2 separate regions of the Homo sapiens genome follow, and region 2 is linked to region 1. The links are contacts of gene promoters, found by promoter capture Hi-C in human tissues and cell types (Jung and others, 2019). All regions are on one chromosome and are shown on one strand. The core of a region is centred on a gene start or on the middle of the fragment in contact, and the rest is flanking DNA. Distances in the headings are between cores, read along the strand shown.

Region 1 (2,700 bases), core at 148-2,647:
TTCAGGTTCACCTGCGCTAACTCACAGAGACTCCGAGGTTCTTCCTGGAGACCACAGTGAAGGAAGGGTTCTGAGCCTCCCACTTCCTGGGCAGGGCATTTTTCTCTAACCGTCCTTTTTGCCAAGAAGTGCCCCCTTTTGGCTGGGTGTGGTGGCTCATGCCTGTAATCCCAGCACTTTGGGAGGCCGAGGCGGGTGGATCACCTGAGGTCAGGAGTTAGAGATCAGCCTGGCCAACATGGTGAAACCTCATCTCTACTAAAACAATACAAAATTAGCCGGGCATGGCGGTGCACGCCTGTAATCCCAACTACTCGGGAGGCTGAGGCAGGAGAATCACTTGAACCCGAGAGATGAAGGTTGCAGTGAGCTGAAATCGCGCCATTGCACTCCAGGCACTCCAGCCTGGGCAAAAAGAAGCGAAACTCCATCTTAAAAAAAAAAAAAAAAGAAGAAGAAAGAAAGAAATGACTCCTTTCATTTCCATCAGCTCTTGCTTGTGGCAGCTTGGGAGAAGGGAAATGGGGTGGCTGTAGCCGTAAAGGCCCAGGGGACGAGAAGAGTTACATGCCCATGTTCCTGGCACAGGGGACGTGCTCCGAGAGGGACTGTCAAAGCCTCACTCCTCTTCTGCCCAGGCAGCGGGCACACAGGCAGCATCATCTTCCCTTCCTCTGCTCTCTCTCCTCTGCCTGACCTGGCCCCTTCTCCCCCTGCTCTTCCTGGGCTGGTTGAGAAACCAGAGTACTTGAAGGGTCTGGCTGGAGCAAAGCTCTCTGGGGAGGGTCCACTCAGGTCCCTGTCACAGGTAGGGAGCTTTGAGAATGGGGCTTTTTGATCGGTCAGATTCCGCGCCCCCCCTCCCGTTAGAGGTGTGGTCCCAGCCCCCTGCTCTGTCCCCCCTGCCCCGCCCCACGGCTCCCTTTCCAAGGAGGGTGAGAGTAGTCCTGGAGAATCTCCGTGGGACACTTTCTTTCACAGATGGGTGTGAAGGTCATAGTATCAGAACCCCAAATTAGGACCCAAGGTCTCACAAGTATGAGTAGCCCAGTTGGGACCACTGGCCGGGCTATTTGGCTTCAGAACTGTCCCAGAAAGCCTAACATTTGGGGGAAAGGGGCTGCAGTGAAGTGGAGGTAATGCTGCCCACCCCCACCCAGAGATTACCAAGTTTAAACCCTCCTACCCTTGGGGCCCACGGTCTCCAGCTGCTTGTCCTCCTAAGTGTTCTTATGCAGGAACCACTTTCTGCTCCCTTCAGAAACAGCCCTATGTCGTCTACGTCTCTCCCTCGCCAGCCCGGGTCTGCCGCTGGAGAAAGCACTTTCTTACCAGTTCCTGCACACCGAGAAGTCTCCTTCCATGTTCTGCTCTCTGCAGGCTTTCGGTTGAGTTTCGTTTCTTGCAGGCAAGGAAACAAAACTGAAAGTTTTCCGATGGCCCAGCCCACAGCTTCAGGGAGGGAGGAGATCTTCAGAATTCTCGGCTCAGGAGTTCCCCTTGATTCCTGAGGCTGGACCCTCCCAAGAAGCCCCTTTACAGCATGGCCAGCCCCTGCTGTCGCCCTTGGCCGTCATTCTTTGCTGCTGTCACAGCCGCATCTACCTCCCTGAGGCTGGCAGCCTGAGGCCAGGCCTCTCCTGGGCAGCACAGCAGCTTGTTCCCTCACCCTGGCTGGCTGGCTTCTCTCCGTCTGGGTCTCCATCCCTTTTCCAAACCATCCACCTCCCACCCTTCTCCCCCATCTCCGGCTCCCTTCTGGTCCTCCCCTGCAGGAAAGAGGGAACTTGCCATGTTGAGCTTGAATGCTGTTCCCTAAAAATGGCTCCTGGACTTCCAGGCGGTGAGGACCTTGCAAACAGCGTCCAGGGAGGCTCTGGGGATGCAGGGTGGTGTGAGCCCAGACCCAATCTGGTGTGTATCCTCCTGGGGGTCCTTAGAGTTTTTCCAGACCCTAGAAACAGCTGTGCTAACAGAAGAACTCTAAACAACATCTGGAGTGATGACAAGCAGGCCCAGAGAATTCCCGTGGCGTCTGCCAATGGGGTGGGTGCCGCCTCTCTGAGGAGGATAACAAGATTAAGGGAAATGTCCAGGCAGGGCTCCAGCCTCCAGGCAGGCTCTAAAATTCAGGCACTAAATGAGAAGCAGTGTGTGGTGGTACTGATGATCACAGTGATAGGAGGGAAGAATGAAAGACTGTTTCAACATTGTTCCTATGTTCCAGGCACCATTCTAAGCATTAGGTAGGCATTGTCTTCGTTTTAATCCCTCATGTAAGCATTATTAACTCCATTTTGCTATGGAAAACAGAGGCAGTGACAGAGTGAGACTCTGCCTCAAAAAAGAAAAATGAAATGAAAAAAGAGAAAATGGAGGCAGAGAGAGGCTAGGCCAATCGCTCAACATCAGAGCTGGGATTCACACCAGGTTGATATGACTCAGGTGTCTATGTACCTAACCAAGGCCCCATCCACCTCATTTGACAGCTAGTTGGGGTAGTGAGCACTTGGCTGAGAGTCAGAGACTGAGGTTTGCATCTTATCTTGTTCCCTTCCTCATCGGCTAGGCAAGCTCCTTAATCCTTCTGACCCTCACTACCCACTCCTGTCTGTCTCTGGGCAGTCTGTCAATATCAAGAATGAAAAACGAGTGGGCTTGGCTTGGTGGCTCATGCCTGTAATCCCAGCACTTTGGGAG
Region 2 (2,700 bases), core at 82-2,581, 160 kb before region 1:
TCTATTGTGTCATTCTTATGCCTTTGCATCCTCATAGCTTAGCTCCCACTTATGAGTGAGAATATAGGATATTTGGTTTTCCATTCCTGAGTTACTTCACTTAGAATAATAGTCTCCAGTTGCATCCAGGTTGCTGCCATTAACTCGTTGCTTTTTATGGCTGAGTAGTATTCCATCGTATGTATGTGTATATGCATATCACAGTTTCTTTATCCACTTGTTGATTGATGGGCATTTTGGTTGGTTCCACAGTTTCGCAATTGCGAATTGTGCTGCTATAAACATGTGTGTGCAAGTACCTTTTTTGTATAATGACTTCTTTTCCTCTGGGTAGATGCCCAGTAGTGGGATTGCTGGATCGAATGGTAGTTCTACTTTTAGTTCTCTGTGAATCTCCACACTGTTTTCCATAGTGGTTGTACTAGTTTACATTCCCACCAGCAGTGTAGAAGTGTTCCCTGTTCACTACATCCGTGCCAACGTCTATTATGTTTTGATTTTTTTGATGATGGCCATTCTTGCAGGAGTAAGGTGGTATCACATTGTGGTTTTGATTTGTGTTTTCCTGATTAGTGATGTTGAGCATTTTTCATATGTTGGTCATTTTGTATATCTTGAGAATTGTTGTCTATTCATGTCCTTAGCCCACTTTTTGATGGGATTGTTGTTTTCTTGCTAATTCGTTTGAGTTTGTTGTAGATTCTGGATATTAGTGCTTTGTCAGATGAATCTTCTGGCCTCCATTGTTTTTGATGAGAACCCTGCAGTCATTCAAATTATTATTTCTCTATGGGAAATACATTGCTTTTCTCTGCTTGCTTTCAAGATTTTTTTCTTTGGCTTTAGTTTTCACTAGTTTGATTGTGATTATCTGGATGAGGATTTGTTTGTTTTATCCTGTTGGTGATTTGTTGAGATTTTCGAAGCTGTAAGTTATATCTTTTATGAAATTTGAAAAATTGGAAGTCGTTATTTATTTTTTTTGTGCACCACACACTCTTATCTTTCTTTGACTCTGATGACATGAATGTTAGACCTTTTGGTTTTGTCCTTCATGTCCTTGAGACTCTATTTACTTAAACAATTTTTTCTTGATGTCATTCAAATTGCATAGTTTCTATTGAGCTATCTTCAAATTCACTGACTGTTTCCTTTGCTGTCTCCATTCTGCTGCAAGCTCACTCAGTGAGCTAAAACTTTTTTTAAAAATTTATTTTATTATTAATTTATTAATGGGGTACAGGTGGTTTTTGGTGACATGGATGAATTATATAGCGGTGAAGTCTGAGATTTTGGTGCACCCGTCACCTGAATGGTGTACATTGTACCTAATGCATAGATTTTGTTCCCTTGGTCCTCTTCCCACCCTCCTGAATCTCCTTCTGAATCTCTAAAGTCCGTTATATCACTCTGTATGCCTTTGCGTATTCCTAGCTTAGCTCTCACTTATAAGTGAGAACATACAGTGTTTGGTTTTCCATTCCATTATCTCCTAGGGGGTTGGAATGGTAGAGGTTTCTTAAAGCTTATCTCCTTCTCCCATCTCATGCACTTTTTATTTATTTATTTTCCCCCAGTATTTTATTTACTGGTTTGATGGTTCAGGTTTCAGGCCAGTAGAAGAGGTGTCCCTGAGTAGGAATCGGTTGTGGGTAAAGCAAGTGGGTAAATGAAGACCCAGGCTTGACAGAGGTGGCTGGAGGAGCCCTCGGTGAGTCACAGTGAGGTCTTATCAGGGAGAAGGGTTGGAGCCACCTTAGCTCCCCTGCAAGGTCAGCAGGGACGTTTTCCACTTCTTAGATATGCTCCTGTCCCAGCGCTCTGGCTATTCAGATCAGACAGGCACCTCTTTTCATCTGTAGGTGTTGGTGTTCCAAATAGAGAGGAATTGTGACTGTTTCTTGTGCAAGCCTGATCCTGGAGGGTGCTCCTCTTGTGGGGATGCAGTCGCCTTGATGTGTTCCAGAATGGCCGTCTATAGTTGCATCCATGTCGAGCTCCTGTGGGAGAAGTCCCAACTGTGCATATGGTGGTGAACAAGGGGGGAAAGACTGCCTCTTCTCCAAGATCCTTCCCATGCACCAAAGCTGTCTGACTGTTGCGATAGAGCTGAAGGCTTTCCCCGCTGAGCCTAGCACTTCAGCTGCGCCTCTGCTCAAGGAAGCTTTCCACCAGCGGAAGGATCTGATGCTCAAGGCCTGCCATCCCGATTCTTTGGTCCCACAGGGTCTTCCCTTGATGGGGCGCACTCCCCCTTTCCCTATGAGTGGGAGTCCCTGTGAGCCACGCTACTGTGAATGTTGTTGCTCCTCTGGGTCTAGCTGCCCAGTGACGTTGCCACCCTCCAGGCTGGTGTTGGGAAATGCCAGTTGTGAATGCCAGTTTCCCAGAAGTGGGTAGCAACACCAGCTCTACTGGGGGTAGCAGGGGAGTGACGTAGACTCTGAAATTCCTTGGTTATTGGTAGCCATAGTATGTTGGCTTTCTTGAATGCTAGTTATAGTAGTAATGAGCTGGTCATGTGGACTCAGGACCTCCTGGTTAGCCGGAGTGATGCAGGCAGTGGTAATAGCTGAGATCATAGAGCCTCCTTCTTCCTGGGTGCAATGTTATTCTACCAGGAGATGCTGTAATGGACTGTGCTGGTTGGCCTCCAGCCAGGAGGTGGTGCTTGCAAATGAACACCGGCTGCGGTAGGTG

What was found. The method cuts DNA at HindIII sites, captures the fragments that hold promoters and counts their contacts. A contact is called where the count stands out against the background at its distance.
Region 2: a contact is called between a fragment that was not itself captured here and the fragment with the promoter of XAF1 in region 1, in 2 of the 25 tissues and cell types used here (H1 embryonic stem cells and liver).

The regions. Positions count from the first base shown.
Region 1 is chr17:6,754,743-6,757,442 of GRCh38, reverse strand. It overlaps XAF1 (XIAP associated factor 1), which reads right to left and starts at 1,397. Exons shown (of 7, transcript NM_017523.5): 1 at 1,333-1,397. The coding sequence starts at 1,364. RefSeq lists an enhancer at 1,221-1,740. The HindIII fragment of the contact is 6,790 bases long and covers 1-2,700 here.
Region 2 is chr17:6,914,757-6,917,456 of GRCh38, reverse strand. No RefSeq gene overlaps it. Among named protein-coding and RNA genes, the nearest start is that of ALOX12, 80 kb to the left of the region's middle. RefSeq lists an enhancer at 2,593-2,700. The HindIII fragment of the contact is 5,172 bases long and covers 1-2,700 here.